Regions from separate parts of the Homo sapiens genome. Here regions 1, 2 and 4 are each linked to region 3. The links are contacts of gene promoters, found by promoter capture Hi-C in blood cells and fetal thymus (Javierre and others, 2016). All regions are on one chromosome and are shown on one strand. The core of a region is centred on a gene start or on the middle of the fragment in contact, and the rest is flanking DNA. Distances in the headings are between cores, read along the strand shown. Region 1 has its middle 3.6 kb from the start of ZNF746. Region 2 has its middle 4.7 kb from the start of TRC-GCA9-3. Region 3 holds the start of ZNF282 (zinc finger protein 282). Region 4 overlaps ZNF746 (zinc finger protein 746).

Region 1 (3,547 bases), core at 299-2,798, 310 kb after region 3:
TAGGGTAATGATGACTTGCTCTGTCCTCCACTGAAGACAGGCATCTATTGCAGAGCATCTCTGGTGCTGGTTTTCCAGCCTCTATTTGTAAAAAGAACGAAGATAAACCTCCTTGGATTGATATATGAGGCTTCCAAAGCCTTTCCCTCCATTTTGGGCACAGGTGTCAAAAGCAGGCATGAGAGTTTCCACTCCTGTGCCTTTCCTCATGCTTTTCCCCTCTCCTCTTGCCCACCCGAAGTTCTCACACCTTTTCCAGACCAGCATATGCCCTAATTCTTCCAGTTAAGTCTCTCCATGCCAATCACGGCTGCAGCAAGCTCTGCATTGTCCCAACTCTAATAATTTTTATTCTCGGTGCCATTCATATGGCACTGAGAAAAAAATTACAATACAAGGTAGTAGTTCCTAACTCACCTCTTGGATTATAAGTTCCCTGAGAGCAGGGACTATATCTTATTTCTCTTGTCTCTCCTGCAGTGCCTAATACTGGGCAGGTTTAGGCAACATAAAGTAATGATTTAGTACAAGTCTTAATTGATTGCTCTGTGTGGTGTGATCAACTGTGGTCCAAAGAATCATCCCCTCCTCTGCTCTAATACTTCTGCAGCCCCTACCATCTCCACCTTCCTGCTGAGTATTCCTAGAAGAAAAATCATAAAGCATTTTCAACACACCCAGAAGGAGCCTGGAAGGGCTAGAGAACATGAGACCACATGTCAACTCAAGGTGTCAGGGAGGCAGGAAGTGTGTGGTTCATACTGCACATAGACTGTGTAGATGTAGGGACTATGGACCCATGCACCCCTATGAGTGCTTCCTATACTCCAGCAGGTACAGCAGAACAGGTGGACCTCTATTTTTCCAGCTGCTCCCTTAGGCCTGAGCTTTTCCCCTGGGACCAGGCACACAGCCTAAAAGTTCAGGCTTGGGGTTTTCAAAAAGACTGTGGTAATCATTGCTGCCCACTAAATATTTCCAGCTGGTTTCTCTTGAAGACCATGGCTGGATGGCACTTCCTGGTTTCTTCTGGCTGGGTTGGACCATGTGACAAGTTCTGGCTGATGTTTTTTCTTTCCCTCTACTATGGTAACCCAGCAATATTTGAGGAGGTGGGTGCTGTATTTGCCTGCATCCTGGAGGTGGGGGACATTGAGTAGACTCCCCAGCCATCCCATGATGAGCTACTTACAGCATGAACATGAAACTTTTTGTTGTAACATGGTTTGGGGGTTGCTTGTTCCACAGTTTAACCTAGCCTATCCTGACAGATACAAAGGCATGGTGAAAGTTGGCCAGGCATTGCAGCAGGCATCCTTGGGCTCCAGGTGGTGTCTGCTCGAGCTTAACTTCCCTTACATTGTCTGAGTGCTCTCACATTGAGCGTTACCCTGCAGCGGTTAGATGTGGTGAAGTGCTGGAGAACTTGCAGCTGGCCCTGGAGTCTCTCCCATGGAGCCAGTGCCAAGTTCCTGCCTCAAATCCCTCAGTGAAATTTGCAGATGCGGATGGTCAGGGCCATGGCTCTGAGAAGCTACCTCCTTTCCTTCTGCTGGGAGCTGGGAGACTCACAGTCCTCTGGGGTTGGCTGGCTGGAGGCCAGTGCCTCAAAAATATTCTATACCAGAGCCCTTGAGTACAGAGAAAAGTGAATGTATGTCCTGTGGGTCTGGACGCTGCCTGAAATGGCCCTTGGTGAGCCAGAAGGTGTGATAAATTGTCATACTTTAACAATCCATTAAATCTTGTCTCCTTTATAAAACTTCTGTGCTTGTTTTAATTTTAAAAGATTATTTTGATTTATTGACCAGAGTAAAAAATTTATTTGATGTTTCAAAACCCCTCTCTTGCTCCTGAAATGGGAACAATTCCCTCATCCGCCTCTCAGGGTGTGAGATGGGGGCTGCAGCTCACTTTGTCAGTGCCCCGCTGCTCAAACCTCTAGCGGGAGCATGTAGGCAGGCAGGCTGTGGGGCTTATCACAAGGACAGAGGGCTTTCTGTATCCTGGGGTTCTTGCCTTAGTGTGCCAGAAAAATTAGATCACGCGTGGGCTTGGGGGATGGGTGCAAGGCTTTTTATTAAGTGGTGGCAGCTCTCAGTGAGGTGGATGGAGAGGCCAGAAGGAGGATGGAGTGGGAAGGTGGCCTTTCCCTGGAGTCAGGCCACCCAGTGGCCGGGCCCTCCTCCGACTGGCCTCTGCTGAACTCCGTGTCGTCCCGTCATAGATGGCCTGCCGGCGTCTGCTGGTGTCTGCCCGTGTGTTCTTCTGCTGTTGAGTTCCTCTCGATGTCCAGCTGCTCGTGTCCGTGCCCACTAGGGTCTCAGGATGTTTAAAGGCACAGGATGGGGTGTGTGGCAGGCCAGGGTGGTCTTGGAAATGCCACATTTAGCCACAGAAACAGAAATACCTGTCCTCACCTAGGTCAGTGGGCACAGGCCTGAGGGTAGAGCCTTTGCCAGGGACCCTGCCTTTCTCTACCCAGCACTTTCCTGCCTCCCTCCTGTATCACTCCCACATCCCTCCTCACCCTGGACCTCCCTTTCAGGGGGTCCGTGCCTCCGTCTGAGAAGCATAGCTCCAGGCATCTCAGGTGTTGCTGAGTTTCCACCATGATGGCATCACCCTCTGCCAACCTGGAGGTAAGATCCTGATGTGGCATTAGAAAGCCAGGGGCAAGGTGGGCAAGTGGCAGATGTGTGGAGGAAGTTTCAGTGCCCTGGCATCCATGATTGCCTTTCAAGTTTTCTAGAAGCGTCCATAGCCTCAGTTATTCTGATATGGTGATGTTAAAACCTGCCTACACCTAGGGTGTTTATGACTGACAACAGCTTAGAGAGTGACCCGTCCCAGGGCCCTGGCATCTTCTCTGGGGTCAGAACTTTGAGCGACAGGAATGAACAACAGGGCATTCCAGACGCCCTCAGCAGAGTGCAAGTCTCTGCACCTGAGCTCTCCAGGGCAGGAGTGAGGTCACCTTGCGCCAGTGGAGGTGAGGTGGATGGTAAAAGAATATAGGAGGCCCTTCCATATTTGGAGCAAACTCCAAATATGGAAATATGGAAAAATCCAGACATAAGAAACAAGCATCAGAGTTTTGTTTTTAGATTCATTAAAAATTTTTAATAACTAAAGTTATTGAATTCTCCCATAACTAAAATCTCCACAGCTTTTGAAAATAGTGTTCTAGGTACAAAAATTAGATTTCTCAAGGAGTACTTACTGTGCAGAACATGGCCCACCCCAGCAATATTATTAATTATAATAGAAACAAGCTTATTACTCAGGTGCTGACTCATATTTACAAGAGATTTTGAAGTTTTATAGGTCTGACCTTTGAGTTGTCAATTTTTGAGGACCTCACAATAGTCTCTCATGGCTTTCAGAGTGGGGGAAGCCTGTCACATCAAAGCCTAGCCAGATGAAATGAAGAATATTTTATAGGGACACTGAGTCCTTTTGAGCTTGGCTAGGGACAAAACCCACTCAGTAGAAATTAGTCAACAAGTCTATACTGAGTACTTACTGGGTCCTCAGCCAGATTATA
Region 2 (3,440 bases), core at 92-2,591, 440 kb after region 3:
TGTTTAAGTTTTGTAACTATCAAAAGCAATTTTATGTCATATTTAAGCTTTAAAAGCAAACTTCTGCAGAAGGGATTATTGAATTATATCAACCATCTCAAAAGCTAAAGGATGTGATGGCATTCTATGCTTTGGAGAACAAACAGCTTTTTTGGTACAAAATGTCAAAATTCATGGAGGTTCAGCTATACAGCATAGAATTCAGAAGCACAATTCATGATTTTTAGTATCCCTTACACTAATCACCTTTTATGAATCTTTTTCAGAACTACCTAAAATATGTTTATTAATTCTTCTGATTTATATGAACAACAGAAGTTTCTACTTTAGATAGGTTAAAAAGAGGTTCTTGTAATAAAACTATGTGACAGCAAGAAAGTCTTACTATCTTTACACTGAATGGCAGGAAAACACAACAGAGAAGCAGGCATTGAAGACAGAGCCTGGTCAAGTGTAGTGTCACTTGAGGCTCTGCCTAATTTGACCATTTAGCAAATGGTGCTTTGCTCTACTCCCCTGAGTTGAAAATATTCTGTATCCTGTGACCTTTCTTTTTAGTATAAGATGTAGGAGCCTGAATAACAGAACTTCTTTTATCTTTGGTGACGTGCTTTATAATTTTCTTTTCCTTAAAGCAGATTCCTTTTGTTAACAAAATATTCGAATTTTTTATTTAGTACTTTTTTTTTCCTCCAAAAAGTGGCATTGGTAACTCAAACAAGAAATGCTAGAGGGGATGGACACCCCAATCCCCATGATGAGCTTATTTCGCATCGCATGCCTCTTCCAAAACAGCTCATGTGCCCCGTAAATATATATACCACTTTGTACTCACAAAAGCTTACATTTTTTAAGAAGTGGCTTTTGCTGTTCCAGTTTCACACTTAGAGCTTTGGCCTAGAACTTGGGTACTTGCCCCTTTCCCGTCCCTGCCCTCCAATGCCTTCTGATAGTGAAAATGGTCTCTTGGGGCAGCCTCCTTCCTGTATCCCCATTACTGTTTTAGCTCCTCCACCCAAGCCCGCCAGCCCTCCAGCTACTCTATAAACAGTCTCCTTCCTCCTTAACCTTGCCCTGGGAGTCTGCCTTTTTATCCCTCCTTGTACATCTGAAGGCCAGCTTTCCCGTGAAGCCATCCCTCCCCTTCAACCTCCAGAACTGAGAGGGTGGGGTCACCTTCTCAGCCTCATTCTCCATGTTGCCCCCAAACCCCAGCTCCTCCACCATCCCTCCCTGCTTCTCTCTCAAAGCCATCTCCTTTCACCACGCTCTCCTCTCCACATTCATGTCTTCTCCACAAACCTAGTGGAAATTTTTAGAACTAGGCTAACAATCGTATTTTCCTCACCTCCTCCTGCTTTCATTCTCGGGAATGTCAAACTCCAAGGTAATGTGCTTCCAATGCTAAGGCCTCCCAAGATTTCCATCTTCCTGGCTCTAGGAATGTTCACAAACTCCGTTCACTGCGGCCTTCAAGGTGTGTGGTGAGGCAGAGATTCAGAGTTTTCCACCAGTGTCTTCTACCCTGCCTTTTGGTTATCAGCTGAGCACATGGCTTCCCAGAAGAAAAACTGCATTTCCCAGACCCCCTTGGAGCTGTGAGGCCATAGGCATAAGGCTGGTCAATGAGATGCAGGTGAAAGTGATGGGTGTTCTTATATGGAGAGGCTTGTCTTTCCTCCTTCCTACTGGCTGGGAGGTCGATGAGATGCTAATGTGGGTGATGGCATGCTGGAATGAAAGCCAAGCCAGCCAGACAGCCACAAAGAAGAAATCGGGTTCTTGACCCTATGGAAAGCCATGCCTGGACCACCTAGCTGTGGACTTTTATGTGGGAGAAAAGGAAGCTTCTGGTTTGTTTGCTTGTTTTTGTTTTGCTTCCATCCTTTGTTATTTTGGGTGTTCAGCATTCATAGCCAAACCTGATCATCACTTAAACTATTCCCTTTCAAGATCTTAGAATCAGAAAAGTCCTTTTATGACACGTTTTCTGATGTTTACATGTTCTTACTGTTACCAAAAATGTTTCATTATCCTCATTTTGACCTTAATCTTGTCTACCTCTCTCTGTTCCCATGACCGCAGGGCCACCTTGGGGCTCAGCTATCTGCCTGCCCATTATTGATCCCATGTTTGGCCTCTCAGTCATGATTCCAGCTCCTTTGAGAGCTTGGTCTGTGGTCTATCTACCTCTCTCATGAGCCCTTCTGCTTCCGCGGATACACACGCCTTTGGCCTTTCCCACCTTTGCTCTGGGGAAGCCAGTCTTTGATGGAGTAAATTGTAGAGCCAGGCAAATGGTCCCACTGCAAATCTACACCAGTTTGACCTCAACCAGTGCCTCTCTCTAATGAGCAATGATTCTATTCCTTTCTAATTCACTTCTTCTCCATTTCCCACAGTGCCTGATTCACACTTTGCCCTTCTTCCCAAGTAATGATTCCCACCCTACCTCCTTTATTCTCTTTGGAAGACTTTGTTTTCTATCTGACTGAGAAGACCAAGGCCATGGAGGCCCCCCAGCATCCTCTGCTCTGCATCTTCACCTTCTCCTCATCCCCTCCAGGCTAAGAGGAAAAGCCTGCCTGCTCCTCTCTAGAGCACATCCTGTGTTCTTTATCCACCCTTTGGCTTTCCCTGGGATCTCCTTCCATTAATATATCCTCTCTTTTTTATTGACACATTTGAGCATATTCATATATGTACTGGCCATTCATGATATACAGGGAACCCTACAGGCACATCTTTGCAGCAATTATGGTGAACTGTGTGTGCTTTGATAGACATACAGGAGCCATGGAGCATGTGGCAGGGGTCCCACCCATCAGGAGGGTCAGGAGGGCTTCCCAGGAGAACACCCACCCAAGTGCTCCACTTCACTGAGACTGTGCTTGTCACAGTCCTTGGTGACCATGTGTCATGGGTGATTCTCATCTTTAATTCAAGCCCTCAGTAGCATTTTTTTTTCAATCGACATTGGGGCTGTCACTCTTTTTCTGTTGTTTTCTTTGTACTTCTCTGCCACTTTTCCTCAATCTCTTTTGCTGGTTTCTCCTTAACATCCCCATTTTTAAACATTCGAGGGCCCAGGTCTTAGTTCCTAGACCACTTTTCTTTTCACTCCCACTTCCTCAGTGCTCTCATTCCATCCTGCGGCTTTAATGGGATGATGACCCTCAAATTTATATCTTTAGCCAACACCTCCCCTTCGAACTCCAGCTTCATTTTTGACATCTCCATTAGACCATTTAACAGATGGATTCAATTTAATACATCACAGATTGAACTCCTGACTTCCACCACCCCCTCAAATTTCATTTCTGCTGCAATGAAAATGGCCATCTCAGAGAATGGCCCCCCCATCCCGCCGGGTGCTCAGGACAGAAAACCTTGGCATTATCCTTGACTTTTCCCTTTCTCTCACACCCTGCTCTCAAATC
Region 3 (3,271 bases), core at 696-3,195:
TATTTTCTTCATTTATATATGAAGAGAATGAGGCTCAGAGAAGTTAAATAAGTTGCTCAAAGTCATAGCTAGTGAGTGGTGATTTTGGGATTTAAACTCAGGTGTATGCAACTGCAAAGCTCACCCTCTTCCTAAACAGTACCTGGCACACAGTAGGTGTTCAATAAATACATTTGGAATGACTGAATTTTCCCCTCCTCCATCTTCATCAGCTTATACTGGCCTCTCCCTGGCTCCTCCTCTGACCTGGCCTGATGTTTCAAAGTGACACTGACCTGCCTTTAAAGGGTTTTATTTGTAGAGAAGGGATCTCGCTGTGTCACCCAGGCTGGTCTTGAACTCCTGGCCTCAGCCTTGGCCTCCAAAGTGTTGGGATTACAGGTGTGAGCCACCATGACTGCCCGATTTAAAGGTTTATTTATTTATTTATTTGACACAGGATCTTTGCTATGCCGCCCAAGCTGGAGCACAACGGCACAATCACAGCTCACTGCAACCTCCAACTCCTGAGTTCAAGCAATCCTACAGCCTTAGCCTCCTGAGTAACTAGGAGTACAGGCATTAGCCATCATGCCCGGGTAATTTTTATTTTTTATTTTATTATTATTATTATTATTTTTTTTTGAGACGGAGTCTTGCTCTGTTGCCCAGGCTAGAGTGCAGTGGCGCGATCTCGGCTCACTGCAAGCTCCGCCTCCCGGGTTCACGCCATTCTCCTGCCTCAGCCTCCCGAGTAGCTGGGACTACAGGCGCCGCCACCACACCCGGCTAATTTTTTTGTATTTTTAGTAGAGACGGGGTTTCACCGTGTTAGCCAGGATGGTCTCGATCTCCTGACCTCGTGATCCGCCCGTCTTGGCCTCCCAAAGTGCTGGGATTACAGGCGTGAGCCACGGCGCCCGGCCTTATTATTATTTTTTGAGATGGAGTCTCGCTCTGTTGCCCAGGCTGGAGCGCACTGGCGCGATCTTGGCTCACTGCAACCTCCGCTTCGGAGGTTGAAGCGATTCTCCTGCCTCAGCCTCCCGAGTAGCTAGGATTATAGGCCCACGCCACCACGCCCGGCTAATCTTTTTGTATTTTTAGTAGAGACGGGGTTTCACCATGTTGGCCAGGCTGGTCTCGAACTCCTGACCTCAGGTGATCCGCCTGCCTCAGCCTCCCAATGTGCTGGGATTACAGATGTGAGCCACCGCGCTCGGCTAATTTTTATTTTTTATAGGGATGGGGTGTCAATATGTTGCTCAGTCTGGTCTCGAACTCCTGGGCTCAAGTCGTTCTCCTGCTTCAGCCTCTCAGAGTGCTGAGATTACAGGTGTGAGGCACCACGCCCAACCCAATTTCAAGGTGTTTGAAGAGGCCACTGTTAAAATGCACTGCACCTTACCTGGGAGAAAGAGCTCAGCCCTCTTTTGACACCTTAACATGAATCACTTCTCTATCATCCATAACAGTGCAAAAGCTCTGGGATGGGTCCAGGTAAATCTGGATTGGGAAGAAGGGGAGTGGGAGGTAAAGTCTGCAAAGGAGTGAGGGAAGGCAGAAGGCCAGAAGAAAGTGTCTGAAGACAGAATTACTCCTGCAAAATTTTCACAAGGGTCAGGCACTATTTTCTCCCGGGATGCCCAATACATTTGCAGAATTAACAGTAATCAAGCCCACAGTCCAGGTCCTCGCATAGTTTGGGCCTTTAAAGTCGGCCATCCCAGATTGAGGGGGCCTGACCCCTGGGCGAGGCCGCCGCCTCTCAGTTTTGGGGCGGTGGCGACCCCAGTCCGGGAGTGGCCCCGGTAGGTCCCCGCAGGCGGGCAGGAGCTCCGAGGCCATTGGCTGGCGCGCGGGCTGCCAAGGGGCGGGGAGCGCCGCCGAAGGGGACTGTTTGCTCCTACGGGCTGTAGATGGAGCTGTCCGGCCCCGGAGAGGGGGAAGGCGCCTGGAAAACGTTCTTCTTCTCCCTGGCCGACCCGAGCGGGGAACAGCACTCCCAGGATGCAGTTTGTGTCAACACGGCCGCAGCCTCAGCAGCTGGGCATCCAGGGCCTGGGGCTGGACAGCGGGAGCTGGAGCTGGGCCCAGGCTCTGCCCCCGGAGGAGGTCTGCCACCAGGAGCCGGCGCTGCGCGGGGAAATGGCCGAGGGAATGCCGCCCATGCAGGTGGGAGAACCCCGCCGGCGCCATGGCCGCGCTGCCGTGGGGGCGGGGCGCGGGCTGGGCCGCGGGACCGGGCCGCGCCGTCCTCCGGTAGCCTTGCGGCGCCCTCCCAGCTTCCGCGCCCAGGCGAGGCCCGAGGCGGGCGGGGCACGGCCGGGCTGCGCGGCGGGCAGGACGGAGCGGGCCCGACGCAGGCCCGGAAGGGCAGGCCTGGCCCGCGCGGCGCGGAGCAGCGGTCGCCGGGCCCAAGTGCGGAGGCCCCGCGGGGCGGGGGCCGGGACCGTCCTTTCCGGGACCTGGCAGAGCTCTGACCCTGTGGCTGAGCCCCGGCTTGGGGCTCCCTTTGCGCCCGGCCGGCGGAGAGCTTCGCGGGCAGTGCTTCCGCCCGGCCGCAGAAGTGAATGCCTCGTTCGTGTTTACACGGTGGCCAATTTGACGGGGATATTTTTTAAATGTTTGATTACCACCTTTCACCAAGTGTAATGAGTAATTCACTCTCCCCCTGCACCGGGTGTGATCCAGGGAGGGGGCCATGGAGAGATGACTTCGGGGTCTTTCCTGCGGTTGACAAACTTGGCCGCATGTTGGAATGGCCTGGGCAGCTTTTAAGACTCCTGAGCCCTTGCCTGGTCCCAGAGCTCAGGGTCTCTGACGGGTGAGAGTAGCACCAGGCATTTCTTCAGGCTCCATCGATGATCTCCGTGGGCAGAACCGGTGCTCCAGAATTGGGTATAAAACCAGGGGAGGTGGATCCTCAGAGAGGCCTGAAAGCTTGCCCAGGGAAGACTCTCTGGGCCCACCCTGGGGCTGGGCTGCTCAGGGGCCCCTCTGCTCACCACGCGGCTCTCAGCCAGGTGCTAACGAGGGAGCCAGGGGCTGCTGTGTTGTGTTTGATCATTTTCAGGGTTAGGGCTTCAAACCCGAGAAAACTAAACTGGGCCCCGGGACTTTCTTAACTTCTACTGTGGACTCTGTCCCCTTCTGTGGGCTAGGGCGGAGTGGAGCCTCTGTGATGGAGGAATGGGTGCTTTTGATGGAAACACCAGCACCTCTTACTGGTATTACAGGGCCTGGCGATCCTAGGGCCCTGCTCTCCACTCTGCTGTGTCCCGGAGCAGGT
Region 4 (3,212 bases), core at 387-2,886, 290 kb after region 3:
GGGGGATTGGTTCTAGGGCACCCCATGGATACCAAAATCCCACAATACTCAAGTCCCTTGTATAAATTGGTGTAGTATTTGCATATAACCCACACACATCCTCCTGTATACTTTAAATCACCTCTAGATTACTTATAATACCTAATACGACGTAAATGCTATGTAGATAGTTGCTACACTGTATTGTTCAGAGAATAATGACAAGAAAAAAGTCTGTATATGTTTAGTAGACACCTTTTTTCCTGAATATTTCAAATGTGCAGTTACCTGAATCCACAAATGTGGAATACATAAATACAGAGGACTCACTGTATAGGGATGAAATAAAGATATTTTCACACATATAAACACATATAAACTCATATACACACACAAACTGAGGGCTCATTACCATCAGACCCACAAAAAATAACTTCTAAAGGAAGAAAAAATTTCTAAAGATTCCTCTATAACAATAGAAATAGAATACATAACTGTCAAATTAATTTAAAATAACAATAGTTTGAAAAGGAAAATACCTAAATGAATAATTCCCAAAGGAGAGGCAGGAAAAATACAGAAAAGGCAGAACTAAAGATTAACAGCACAATTTAAGATGGTAAAAAGAATCCAAATAAACTAATAACCATAATCAATGTAAATGGTCTAGACCAGAGCTAAGAAGAAAAAAGAATGTGAACCACATATCTAATTTTAAGTACTCTGGTAGTCATGTTAAAAAAGTAAGAACAGGTGAAATAAATGTTAACAGTACATTTTATTTAGCCCAAGATATAAAAAATGTTACTTCAACGTATAATCAATATAAAATGATTTATATTATTTTATACATGCATATTTTGTACTCACGGCTTGTTTTTGTACACGGTTTTTGAAATACGGTATGTATTTTATCCTTACAGCACATTTCAAGTGCTCAGTAGCTACAGGTGGATAGTGGCTACTGTTTGGATATTTAAAAGGTAAAGGTAAAGATTTTCAGACTAAAACCAAACAAATCCCCCAGCTATCTGCTGTTTACAAGAGACATACCTAAACAGAAGGACGCAGAAAGCAATGTAAAAGAATGAAAGATGTACTAAGCCAGAACAATGTAAAGAAATGATGTAGCTATACCATATCACATGAAATAAACTTTGAAAGTAAAAATATTCATAGAAATAAAAAGAATTACTGCATAATAGTAAACTAACCAGGAAGATAAAGTAATTCTAAGGTTTTTTTTTTTTTTTGAGATGGAGCCTTGCTCTGCTGCACTGGCTGGAGTGCAATGGTGCAATCTCGGCTCACTACAACCTCCACTTGCCAGGTTAAAGCAGTTCTCCTGCCTCAGCCTCCCGAGTAGCTGGGATTACAGATGTGTGCCACCACGCCTGGCTATTTTTTATATCTTTAGTAGAGACAGAGTTTTACCATGTTGGCCAGGCTGGCCTCAAACTCCTGACCTCAGGTGATCCACTCGTCTCAGCCTCCCAAAGTGTTAGGATTACAGGCGTGAGCCACTACACCCAGCCAATAACTCTAATTTTTTAAGCTTATCATATAGCTTCAAAATAATAAAGCAAAACTGATAAAACTCTAGGGAGAAATGAACAAATCCATCTTTACAGTAGGGGATTTTGATATATCTCTCTGTAATTGATAAATCTAGCCAACTAAAGGTTATATAAAATTTGAGCAACTCTACTAACAAACCTGATTAAAGGGACCTAAGCAGATTCCAAACACAGAGAAAACACAAGCTTTTTAAGCTACAGAGCGTTAAGGAAAAATGAACACTTTCTAGGTCATAAAACAGACTTCAGCAAAATTTAAACGACTAGTATTTTACACACTGCATTTTCTAGCTACAACACAATTAAGTTTGAAATCAATAACTCCCATACATACTAAAATTTTAAAATATACCGCTTTCTAAATAATCTGAGTCTAAGAAAAAAATCACAATGAAAATTAGAAGGTATCTGGAACCCAATATTAATGAAAATATTATCTATCAAAATGTATGGGCTACAGCTACAATGGTACTTAGAGGAAATTTTATAGCCTTGTATGTTTATATTAAAAAAGATAACACAGGGGCTGGGCGCAGTGGCTCACACCTGTAATCCTAGCACTTTGGGAAGCTGAGGTGGATCACGAGGTCAGGAGATCGAGATGATCCTGGCCAACATGGTGAAACCCCATCCCTACTAAAAATACAAAAATTAGCTGGGTGTGGTGGCATGTGCCTGTAGTCCCAGCTACTCGGGAGGCTGAGGCAGGAGAATGGCTTGAACCCGGCAAGTGGAGATTGCAGTAAGCCAAGATCGCGCCACTGTACTCCAGCCTGGCGACAGAGCGAGACTCCGTGTAAAAAAATAAAAAAAAAAACAAAAACACAGGTCAAAAATTAATGGGTTAAGCGTCAATGCAAGACATTAGAAAATAAATAACATTTAAGAACCTTTTCAAAAGTAGAAGGAAATAATACATATAAGAGTATCATAAATTAATAAAAGAGAAGACAAAGATAGAATATAGTTAGTCAAAGTTGGTTATTTGAAGAGACTGTTAAACCAATTCACCTCTAGCAAGGTTATCAAGAGAATGGGAGAGACAGCACCAATAACCAATTGGAAGAATGAAAAAGGGAACATAATGATAAATGCAGCAGAGATTTAAAAGATATAGAGGATATTATGAATGTTATTCCAAGTAATTTGAAAACTCTGGGGAAATGGACAAATTCCTAGGAAAATTTCAACCTGCCAAAACTAAAGAAGAAATAGAAAACCTGAATAGTCCTGTAACTAAAATAAATTACATCGGTAGTAAAAAATCTTCCCCACAAAGAAAACTTAAGGCTCAGGTGGCCCCACTGGTGTTTTCTACTAAATGTTGAAGGAATAGATAATTCCAACATTACAAAAACTCTCTGAAAATTAAAAACAGAATGAATACATCATAGCTCATATTTTTAATACCGAAACCAGACAAAAACAGTCTGAGAAAAGAAAATTACAAGCCCATCTCATCCATGAACAAAGATTCAAAAATCCTAAACAAAATAATTAGCATACAGCAATGTTCATAAAGGATCATGACAAAGTTAGGTTTATTCCAAGACTGCAAGGTTGGTTCAACATTAGAAAGTAACATAATTTACCTTACTAGCAGGTTAAGGAGAAAAAAATGTATAATCATCTCAATGGATACCAAAAGAAATTATA

Evidence for each region. Contacts are between HindIII fragments. The CHiCAGO score rates a contact against its expected background, and 5 or more counts as called.
Region 1: a fragment that was not itself captured here is called in contact with the fragment with the promoter of ZNF282 in region 3 in 9 of 17 cell types (neutrophils, naive CD8 T cells, non-activated CD4 T cells and 6 more); the score reaches 11.3 in neutrophils.
Region 2: a fragment that was not itself captured here is called in contact with the fragment with the promoter of ZNF282 in region 3 in 2 of 17 cell types (fetal thymus and neutrophils); the score reaches 5.6 in fetal thymus.
Region 4: a fragment that was not itself captured here is called in contact with the fragment with the promoter of ZNF282 in region 3 in 3 of 17 cell types (non-activated CD4 T cells, total CD4 T cells and naive CD4 T cells); the score reaches 5.5 in non-activated CD4 T cells.

Annotation. Positions count from the first base shown.
Region 1 is chr7:149,499,655-149,503,201 of GRCh38, forward strand. No RefSeq gene overlaps it. Among named protein-coding and RNA genes, the nearest start is that of ZNF746, 3.6 kb to the left of the region's middle. The HindIII fragment of the contact is 3,449 bases long and covers 1-3,273 here.
Region 2 is chr7:149,629,268-149,632,707 of GRCh38, forward strand. No RefSeq gene overlaps it. Among named protein-coding and RNA genes, the nearest start is that of TRC-GCA9-3, 4.7 kb to the right of the region's middle. The HindIII fragment of the contact is 1,007 bases long and covers 839-1,845 here.
Region 3 is chr7:149,193,601-149,196,871 of GRCh38, forward strand. It overlaps ZNF282 (zinc finger protein 282), which reads left to right and starts at 1,946. Exons shown (of 8, transcript NM_003575.4): 1 at 1,946-2,154. The coding sequence starts at 1,990. RefSeq lists silencers at 1,614-1,903, 1,722-2,043, 2,164-2,523 and an enhancer at 2,964-3,013. The HindIII fragment of the contact is 5,667 bases long and covers 1-2,920 here.
Region 4 is chr7:149,481,251-149,484,462 of GRCh38, forward strand. All of the region lies in intron 4 of ZNF746 (zinc finger protein 746), which reads right to left. Among named protein-coding and RNA genes, the nearest start is that of ZNF746, 15 kb to the right of the region's middle. The HindIII fragment of the contact is 208 bases long and covers 1,533-1,740 here.